Linked DNA regions of Homo sapiens: region 1 is linked to region 2. The links are contacts of gene promoters, found by promoter capture Hi-C in human tissues and cell types (Jung and others, 2019). All regions are on one chromosome and are shown on one strand. The core of a region is centred on a gene start or on the middle of the fragment in contact, and the rest is flanking DNA. Distances in the headings are between cores, read along the strand shown. Region 1 overlaps BICRA (BRD4 interacting chromatin remodeling complex associated protein). Region 2 holds the start of SLC8A2 (solute carrier family 8 member A2).

Region 1 (4,944 bases), core at 2,092-4,591, 190 kb after region 2:
TAGCAAGACTCCATCTCTATGAAAAAAAAAAAAAAAATCACAAAACAACACACCTGTAAAAGCCCCTAACTGTATAATTTTGGTCGTGTCAATGGTACCTGCAGGATATGTTCCCATAAGTGAAGTAGCCAGGCAGAGGGTGAATGCGTCTTGATCTTAGTGGGTATTGTCATGTGCAGGGGGTCCTCATTATTCCAAGATATCATATTTGCAGATTTCATCTAATCGCCAACGCTTACTCATAACCCCAAAATCAATAACGCACAATGCTTTTCCCATCATTTATGGACACTCACAGAATAGCAAAAAATTTGAGTCACCTGGTGCACACATCTCCAGCTGCAGTCAAGCAACGCCACACCCTGCTTTCTTATTCTCTTACTATAAACAAGTGTCCTTTTTGTGGTCTAGTTAGTGCCATGTTTTCTATATTTTTGTGCTTTGTGATTTTGCTGTTTAAAATGTCCCCAGTTTGGCCAGGCGTGGTGGCTCTCACCTGTAATCCCAGCACTTTGGGAGGCCGAAGCAGGTGGATCACCTGAGATCAGGAGTTCGAGACCAGCCTGGCCAACATGGTGAAACCCTGGGTCTACTAAAAATACAAAATTAGCCGGGCGTGGTGGTGCATGCCTTTAGTTCCAGATACTTGGGAGGTGGAGGCAGGAGATTCGCTTGAACCTGGGAGGTGGAGGTTGCAGTGAGCAAAGATCACACCACTGTACTCCAGCCTGGGCAACAAGAGCAAAACTCTGTCTCAAAAAAAAAAAAAAAAAAAAAAATTAGTAAAATGTCCCCGGTTTAGGACAGGTGCAGTGGCTCATGCCTGTAATCCCAGCACTTTGGGAGGCTGAGGCGGGTGAATCACCTGAGGTCAGGAGTTCGAGACCAGCCTGGCCAACACGGTGAAACCCCATCTCTACTAAAAATACAAAAAAAATGAGCTGGGCTTGGTGGCGGGCACCTGTAATCCCAGCTACTCGGGAGGCTGAGGCAGGAGAATCCCTTGAACCTGGGAGGTGGAGGTTGCAGTGAGCCGAGATCGCTGCACTGCACTCCAGTCTGGGTGACAGAGCGAGACTCCATCTCAAAAAAAAAATAAAAATAAAAATAAAAATAAAAACGTCCCCAGTTTAGTGCTGAAGTGCCGTCTAATGTTTCTAAGCTCAAGAAAGCTATAATGTGAGGCTGGGCATGGTAGCTCACGCCTGTAACCCCAGCACTTTGGGAGGCCAAGGTGGGAGAATCGCTTGAACCCAGGAGGTCGAGACCAGCCTGGGGAACATGGTGAGATCCTGTCTCGACACACACACACACACACACACACACACACACACACACACACTCTGAATAAATAAGTAAATTTTAGAATTAGCCAAGCGTGATGGCGCACACCTAAGGAGGACCACATGAGCCTGGAAGGTCAAGGCTGCCATGAGTTCTTTTCACACCACTGCACCCCAGCCTGGGCAACAGTGAGACCCTGTCTCAAAAAAACAACGAGAAGGCTGTGACGTGCCTTTCAGAGAAAATACACGTATTAGAGAAACTGCATTCAGGCACAAGTTAGGGTGCTGCTGACGTGAGGCTCAGTGTTAATGAATCAAAACTATACATTAAATAAGGTGTCTTCGAACAGAAACACACATAAGCCAAGGTTTTATATTGGTTGGTGAAAGCATTGTGGCCAGAGGCTTTCAGGAACCTAACTTTGTATTTCCCCCAGGAGACATGGTTAATGTCTAAGTATTTGCTAATCCAATGTTCACAGTCACTTTTTAGATTCTGTAATATATAGAACACAGCCACCTGGAATAACGATCAATTGCACAGGGGTTTTTTTTCTACATGCTAGGGGTGCTTTACTGGGTTCTAATTTATGTGCAGTAAAATGCACAAAACTGAAGCGCGCAGCTTGATGTTTTCTGACAAATATTACCTGTGTAAGCATCACTCAGCTCTAGCTAGAGAACACGTCCATCATCTGAGCAGGCTCCCTTATAGCCTTTCCCAGTCATTCCTGCATCCCTCCCTTGAAGCGGCCACACGTCTGATATTTTTCCCCCACTATAAATCAGTTCTGGATATTGTAGATTTGTTTGGTTTTTTTTTTAAGATGGAGTCTTGCTCTGTCGCCCAGGCTGGAGTGCAGTGTGGCGATCTCGGCTCACTGCAACCTCCACCTCCCGGGTTCAAGAAATTCTCCTGCCTCAGCCTCCCGAGTAGCTGGGACTACAGGTGCCCACCACCACGCCCAGCTAATTTTTTGTATTTTTAGTAGAGACAGGGTTTCACTGTGTTAGCCAGGATGGTCTCGATCTCCCAACCTAGTGATCTGCCTGCCTTGGCCTCCCAAAGTGCTGGGATTACAGGCGTGAGCCACTGCGCCGGGCCCATGTTCTAGATCTTTACACAAATGGACTCACACAGTGTGTAGACTTTTGTGCCAGGCTTCCTTTGCTCAGCATGATCCATTTAAGACCCATTTGTATTGTTGCTGTAGAAGTCCTTCATTCCCTTTTACTGCCAAACTGTATTCTGTCGTGTGGATGTAACAGTGTATTCATTTACCTGTTGATGGCTTTCTGTGCCATTTACAGTTAGGGGCTTTTATGAATAAGGCTGCTGTGAAATTTTTTTTTTTTTTTGAGACGGAGTCTTGCTCTGTCGCCCAGGCTGGAGTGCAGTGGCATGATTTCGGCTCACTGCAAGCTCCGCCTCACAGGTTCATGGCATTCTCCTGCCTCAGCCTCCCAAGTAGCTGGGACTACAGGTACCCACCACCACTCCCGGCTAATATTTTGTATTTTTAGTAAAGACGGAGTTTCACTGTGTTAGCCAGGATGGTCTCGATCTCCTGACCTTGTGATCCGCCCACCTCGGCCTCCCAAAGTGCTGGGATTACAGGCATGAGCCACCATGCCCGGCTGCTGTGAAAATTTTTGTACAGGTGCTTTTGTGGACATACTTTTCACCTCCCTTGAGTAAATACCTTGGCGTGACATTGTTGGGTCATAGAGTTGGTATATATTTAACTTTACTTAATCCAGGCTTTAATTCTCTTCTGGGACAAGATGTCTAGGAGAAGGCCATTCCAGGGATGTTTGGCAGCTGAGGATTGTCAGGCCAGTAGGTCAGTGTCCCTCTTATACTCTCTCTCTCTCGTTTTTTTTTTCCCTGAGTCTGTTTTGCTAGGGAACCTCTGATTCTCTTGACCTTCCCCTCAGGAATGCATAATGGCTGCTGCGGCACCAGTCATTGTCATTATATTCATAGCAGTCTTTCAAGCAAAAAGGAGAGGGAGCAAACAGTCTTCCCAAGACAAGATTCTGCCTCTTTAGCCAAATGTGAAAACTTTCCCATATCCATTCTGAGCTGCAAGGGAGTCTGAGGAAGAAAGTTTCTGGCCAAGGAGCAGGGGTCTGCACTCACTATGGTCTGTCCTCTGTTGACCAGGATGTTGGGGCTGGAAGTGTTTGTCAGACCCTGGGCAACTTCTAAATTAGCCTTCCTGAGCCTCAGAGAAGACTCGGTGGGACCACTTGGTCAGGGGCCTGGACCTTGACCAGGAACTGGTGGCTTGTGTTTGATACAAGAACAAGAACCCCAGAAGGAAAACTAAAGAGACAGAAGCTTCTAGGCCGGGCATGGTGGCTCATGCCTGTAATCCCAACACTTTGGGAGGCTGAGGTGGGCAGATGACTTGAGGTCAGGAGTTCGCCAGGCGTGGTGGCGAGTGCCTATAATCCCAGTTACTCCTGAGGCTAAGGCGGGAGGATTGCTTGAACCGGGGAGGCAGAGTTTGCAGTGAGCTGAAATCATGCCACTGCGCTCCAGCCTGGGTGACAGAATGAGACTTCGTCTCAAAAAAAAAAAAAAAAAAAAAAGCAGCAGCAGCTTCTAGAACAGTGGTTCGCAGAGTGTGGTCTGTGCCAGCAGCATCAGCATCACCTGGGAACTCATTAGAAATGCAGAGTCTCAGGCCGCACCGGGACCTGCCGATTCCCAGATTCTCAAATCTGTATTAGGAACCAGTGGTCTACAAACCCGTGCGCACGTCTTGGGGAACGTTTGTTTTCCCCTTTGCTTCCCTTAGCTGCATTTTTTTCCCCTGAATTCGAAGCCTGCTTCGTTGCCTGATGACGTGTGAGTCCCTGTGTCCGGTGAACATAATCATTTCTTTTGTATTTCCGCCACCCACCCCGAATGCCTGTACTTTACCCTCTCCCAGGGTTTTTCCTGTTTCTCATAAGCCAGCATTGAGAAAAATCCAAACCCTTTTGAGATACCTGGTTTTCTTGGCAAGACTGCAGCTTTATAGCTGTATTTAGAACAGCGTCGAATGGTGAAAAGGGAAAAGAGAAGATGCATAAAACATTTCTAGTTTGTAACTACCTGTATAAAATAGGCTTTTAAGAGCCAGACATCAGTCGCTTTATGAGCAATCTAAGCTTTATGGGGCCCACTTTATTTGGTTAAACTAATTCAATGATTTTAGAGATCTAAAGGTCACTAAAAATAAAGATGGTGTAGATTTTAATTGCTCTTCAAATTGCTCTTTCTCTGTCTTTCCCAACAGGGGTGGAGGTGGGTGAAGAATCAACATTTTTTTCCCTGTTTTCCTTTTCTAGCTTTAAAATAGACACATCATGCAAGCGGCTACATATCCAGGGCCCAGCCAGCTCTTACGGGGCTTTTTCATGCAATTGAAAATGGTGCTTTGTCCGAGAGGGCATGACTCTGTGGTGTGTCCTTTGTATGAATTGGGAAAGGGGACTCCTTTCTCCATGTGGATGCCACCCTTCTCTGGGGCTCATAGGTGTGAGCAGAACCTGGACTGGATTTGATGCCCCACTTGCCCCTTTGTCTGGATTCCTTTGTGCAGTGAACAACCTGTGCAGCTGTACATGGTGGTGCATACACACACACACACACACACACACACAC
Region 2 (5,292 bases), core at 1,702-4,201:
TTTCTTCCAGGGGCTTCCATTTGCTTGAAAAGTTCTTCTGAGAGTCTAACCCACAGCCTGTCCCCAACTCACACCTACATACCCATGGGCTGGGAGCTGGCTCCTCTGGGGGAGGGAGGCAGCGTGTTGGCAGAACTTCCCAAGAAGGAGAGAGCAAGCGAGGAGCATGCCTGTGTGCGTGTGTGTGTGTGTGTGTGTGTGTGTGTGTGTGTGCAGGCAAGGGTGGGGGAGAGGGGTGATTCTTAAAGGGCCACCGCACAATTAGCCCCCTCAGCAAGGCCCCTAATGATACGTCTAATTAGCAGCCCCCTAATTAGCAACAACTTAGGCATAATTACAAACCCACCAGGATCCAAAGCAAAGGCTCATGCTCCCTTCTCCCTCCGCCTCCCTGGCTTTCAGGAGAAACAGGGGCCAGCCGGGAGTCAGGAATTCTTCTAAAGCATCAAACCAAACCCCGCTCTCTCTGGGAGGAAGCCTCGGCCTGGGAAGTCCTCCCTCAGGTTTAACCACCTGTCCTTCCTGCTGCAGTCCTCAAGAGAGACCACAGCCAGGTGATGCGGGTTCTCATGTCCACCCTCCTAGCCCAGGGGCTGGGTCAAGCACAGCCTAGTGCAATCCCTTTTTCCTGCAAAACCTGGTTTCTCGCTGGGGCCTTGCGAGAGGAGCAGTCAGGGAGAGAAAGCACTAGATAAATATTTGTGAAATGAATGACCAAGAGGTCTGAGCCCTGTCACCAGGGACCGTGGGCTCCCTCTGCTCCTGGCTCCTGCCTCTCCCTCTCCATCCACCAGCAGCCCTGAAACCCAATCTGCTTTTAGAATCCAGGGGCAAAAGGATCAGGTGGAGCCCAGGGTGGGAGCGGGGAGGGCAGATGGCAGGTACCGTCTCCCAGGGCCATCTCTCCCTCCCTTCGTGGGCGTGCGGCCAGCTGGGTCGGCAGTGAGCACCCCTGTTCTGCCTCACGTGCCTCTTAGGTCCTTGATCAGAAGAACAGGACTGCATGCCTGGGGGTGGGTGCAGTCTGGCGTGCCAGGTAAGACCCGTCCTTCATATCCCTCACGCTACCACCCCACAGTGGGGCGGCAAGGGAGGGTGCTTTTCTGACTGTGCCTGTGTTGGGGGGCTGGCCCTTGCAGGACCGAGCTGGGGACTCAGACTTCTAAACATGCACATTTACTGCCCCAGCATGAGCGCAGGCGCTCCCATCACCTCAAAATGGTCCAGTGTGGGGATCACACCACAGAGCTTGGGTGCTCGAGGCTGTGATACACTGATAATACGTAAACTGAGGCCCAGAGGAGGAACAGGGCTCTTAACCTAGTGCTCTTTAAAGCCATCTGAAGCCCCCTCCGTGGGCACTGTCACACAGGGCTGGGACCTCACCTGCAGCCAGGGAGACATCATACACACACACACACACACACACACACACACACACACACACCAGGGCTACAGGCACAGCCTCGTACCTTTTCGCCATCACTCACTCTCTTGCCCACCTTCTCCAGGGCCCCCTTCTCTCAAGGAAGGCAGACAGTGTGTTGGCCAGGGCCCTCTCAGCACCCCCCACTGAGACAGTGTGAGGCTGGCACACCAGGAAAGGGATGGAAGTGAGACTGCAGGAAGGACTGGCCCGGTCTAACTCAGTACCTAGTGCTTGCCCAGAGCAGGAAAGGCGCTCAGTAATTATCAACAAGAATGAATGAATCAAGAGCTGGACAAACAGCAAGAGGTATGGAAGTGAGACGGCAGGAAGGACTGGTCCAGTTACACGAGGAAGACTGGGGAGGTTAGATTGAAGGGAGGTCTGGTCTCATCTCTACTACAGAGGCTACCGGTTAAACTGCAAGAAGGACCGGCCTCAGAACGCCAGAAACAAGGCAGGGGGAGGTGGGCTCGGTCCTCAGGGGAGAGCTGGGGTGGGTGCCGGCTGGGAGGAGTGGAGAGAGCAGGGGAGCTCTGCTGAAGTGGGGAGAGGAGTTTAGAGGACTCCAGGCCTGGGGGAGCCCACTCTGCGGGTGGGGGGGTCTAATTCCTCCAGGTCCCCCCTGCCAGGGGCGGAGACAAAGGTGTGTGGGAGGAGGGTGCACTGGCTCCCAGGGAGAGCCAGAGAAGAGGAAAGAGAGAGAGAAACAGAGACTGAGATATCCAGAGACAGAGATGGAGACGAGGGGGAGATGGGGAGGGAGGGAGAGAGAGAGAGAGAGAGAGAGACATGCGGACATGGGAAGAGACAGAGACACAGAGAAAGCAGAGACAGAGAGAGACACAGGAAAGCTGAGACAAGGGAGAGAGGCAGAGACACAGAGACACAGAGAAACAGAGATGGCGCAAGAGGAAAGGAGAGAGAAACCCAGGACTTAGAGACAGAGCCCCAGAGAGACTCCGAACAGACCCCGGCACAGAGACACAGAGAGAGGGAGACAGGAGTGAGAGACTGAGAGACAGGGACTCCCAGAGGCGGCCAGACTCTGCTAGACAGAGACCCCTGAGACATGTGGAGAGACAGAAAGATGAGACCCAGACACAGGAAGGCGGGGGCAGAGGTAGAGAGCGCGAGGGGGGGTGCCCCAGACGGGGTGGGGGCGGGGTGTCCTCGCCCCCCAGTACCCAGGCGGTCCCCCTCCCCAGCCGCCCGAGAACCAGGAGGGACTGAAGGTGTTGGGGCGGCTGGTGGCACTCCCACCCCACAGAAGGTACGCGTGCTGGGCCAGGCAGCCCCCCACCTCCATAAACCAGCCCAGGGAAGCCAGCTCCAGGCTTCCCGAACCGCCCCCACTCCGCACCTGGGGTAACCCCGTCCTTTTCCCACGCCCCCACCTCCCCACCAATGGGGTCTCTTACCTGCGGCTACAGCCTGGAGCAGGTCCCCCCAGCGCTGGGCTGGCAGTGGTGGGCGACTCCGCCCGAAAGAGAGAGAGAGATTGAGAGAGAGAAAAGCCTGAGACTGAGAGGGAGAGCCGGGGAGGAGGGGAGGGAGAGGGGATAGAGGGAGGAGAAGAGGAGAGGGGAGGGACACGGGGGAGGGGGAGGCGGCGAGGGAGCGAGGGAGGGGGAGGAGCCGGAGAGAGGGGGAGGAGGCGGAGGCGGGCAGAGGGAAGGCGGTGCGGGAGGCGGGGGGAGGCCCGGGGAGGGGCCTGGGGGAGCAGGGAGCCCGAGCCTCCTCCCCAGCCTCCGGGTTCAGCACCAGAGGCAGGGGACAGCACCGGAGGGCGCTCCTGTGTGTTTCAGAAGCAGCCCCCGCCCCCCAACACACACACACACACACGCACACACACACACGCACGCAGTCTCCCAGCCATACAAGGGCCAACAGCTACAAATAGTTACAGACTTACAGAACTAGGGGGAGGGCAAGAATGTTTAGCTGGAGTCAGATCCAAATTCACATACTGTGCCTGCACAGCCTCACAAAGGAGGCCAGAAACAACCACAAAGACACCCATTAATAAGAATAACAACAGCTGCCATACATACAGGCAGCCCTGACCACGTGCCTGGCATCGGCAGCACATTATTATTATTTGAGACAGGGTCTCACTCTGTCACCCAGGCTGGAGTGCAGTGGCACGATCTTGGCTTACTGCAGCCTCAACCTCCTGGGCTCAAGCAATCCTCCTGCCTCAGCCTCCTGAGTAGCTGGGACTACAGGTGCCCGCCACCACCACGCCAGGCTTTTTCCCTCCATTTTTTTTTTTTAGGAGATGGGATCTCACCATGTTACCCAGGCTGGTCTCCAACTCCTGGGCTCAAGCGATCCTTCTGCCTTGGCCTCCCGAGTAGCTGGGACTACAGGTGCCCACCACCACCACGCCAGGCTTTTTTTCTCTTCATTTTTTTTAAGAGACGGGGTCTCACTATTTTACCTAGGCTAGTCTCCAACTCCCGGGCTTAAGCAATCCTTCTGCCTCGGCCTCCCAAAGCGCTGAGATTACAGGTGAGAGCCACCGCACAGGTGAGAGCCACCGCACCTGGCATGTTCTAATGTTTTTTATAAATTTAGGTAAATGCTATTATGAGCTTCACTTACAGACAGGGAAACCAAGGCATGAGGTGGTAAATATGGCTCCAGATTCTACACCCTTAACTGCTGCACCGCACAATTCCCCAGGCTGAGGACGGGTCAGGTCAAGAAGAGACTTGCAGGCTGGGTGCGGTGGCTCACGCCTGTAATCCCAGCACTTTAGGAGGCTGAGGCGAGCAGATCACTTGACGTCAGGAGTTGGAGACCAGCCTGGCCAACATGGCGAAACCCTGTCTCTTCTAAAAATACAAAAATTAGCCAGGCCAGGTGGCACACGCCTGTAATCCCAGCTACTTGGGAGGCTGAGGCAGGAGAAATCGCTTGAACCTGGGAGGTGGAGGCTGCAGTGAGCTGAGATCATGCCACCGCACTCTAGCCTGGGTGACAGAGTGAGACTCCATCTCCAAAAAAAAAAAAAAAAAAGAAAGAAATGAACTGCAAAGGGCCAGGCAGGTGGCCTGGGCTCCTGAAGACACAAACTCATGCACCCTGCGATGGGCCCACACACATACCCCCACGCAAGCACACACCTCTGCAAGGCACACCAGCACTACACCCACCCCCAATCCTGCTCCCCCCCACAACAGGGGGTGATGGCGTGTTAGTCGGTGTGGAGTGCTCCTTCTCTAGAGGCGGACAGTGGGAGGGAGGGGGCCTTGCTCGTGCCACCGGTCCTGCCCACTGCCAGTCCTGGCTGGACACCGTCAGGCCTGCTGGCCAGGGGAGGGAGAGGATCCGGCTTCCTCCAACTTCCCACGCCTGGGCCTGGCTTCTGGGAAAGAGGGTGAAGACAGGGGTGGCCAGGAGTTGCTGAGCTCCTAACTCCCATAAACGCTCGGTAGAGAACTGGTGGCTGGGTCTTCCCTGTCAGTGCTGGTGGTCAGACTTCTGAGTGGACCTCCATAGCGGGAGGTAGACAGATGGCCAAAATGACTACGGTGTCTGCCTCTCCCCTGAACCCCCAGGAAGCAGATGTCCTGCCCAACCCCTGCCCCCAGCCTGGATACGGCCCAGGGAATGATCATCCCCCAACCCTGCTGACCCAGATTCTATTCCTGGCCTGCAGTGGACGGAGGACAAGACTTCCATCGTTCCCACCCTCCACTGATCCTAGAGACACAGGCCTCTGATTCCTTCTCCTGGTAATACAGAACGGAGCACAGGAGGCCGGGCTCAGTGACTCACGCCTGTCATCCCAGCACTTTGGGAGGCCGAGGCGGGCAGATCACCTGAGGTCAGGAGTTTGAGACCAGCCTGGCCAACAC

The links. The method cuts DNA at HindIII sites, captures the fragments that hold promoters and counts their contacts. A contact is called where the count stands out against the background at its distance.
Region 1: a contact is called between a fragment that was not itself captured here and the fragment with the promoter of SLC8A2 in region 2, in 14 of the 25 tissues and cell types used here (IMR-90 fibroblasts, aorta, bladder and 11 more).

The regions. Positions count from the first base shown.
Region 1 is chr19:47,654,770-47,659,713 of GRCh38, forward strand. All of the region lies in intron 1 of BICRA (BRD4 interacting chromatin remodeling complex associated protein), which reads left to right. Among named protein-coding and RNA genes, the nearest start is that of BICRA, 48 kb to the left of the region's middle. The HindIII fragment of the contact is 3,259 bases long and covers 1,713-4,944 here.
Region 2 is chr19:47,468,942-47,474,233 of GRCh38, forward strand. It overlaps SLC8A2 (solute carrier family 8 member A2), which reads right to left and starts at 2,952. Exons shown (of 10, transcript NM_015063.3): 1 at 2,848-2,952. RefSeq lists an enhancer at 1-2 and a silencer at 431-725. The HindIII fragment of the contact is 16,110 bases long and covers 1-5,292 here.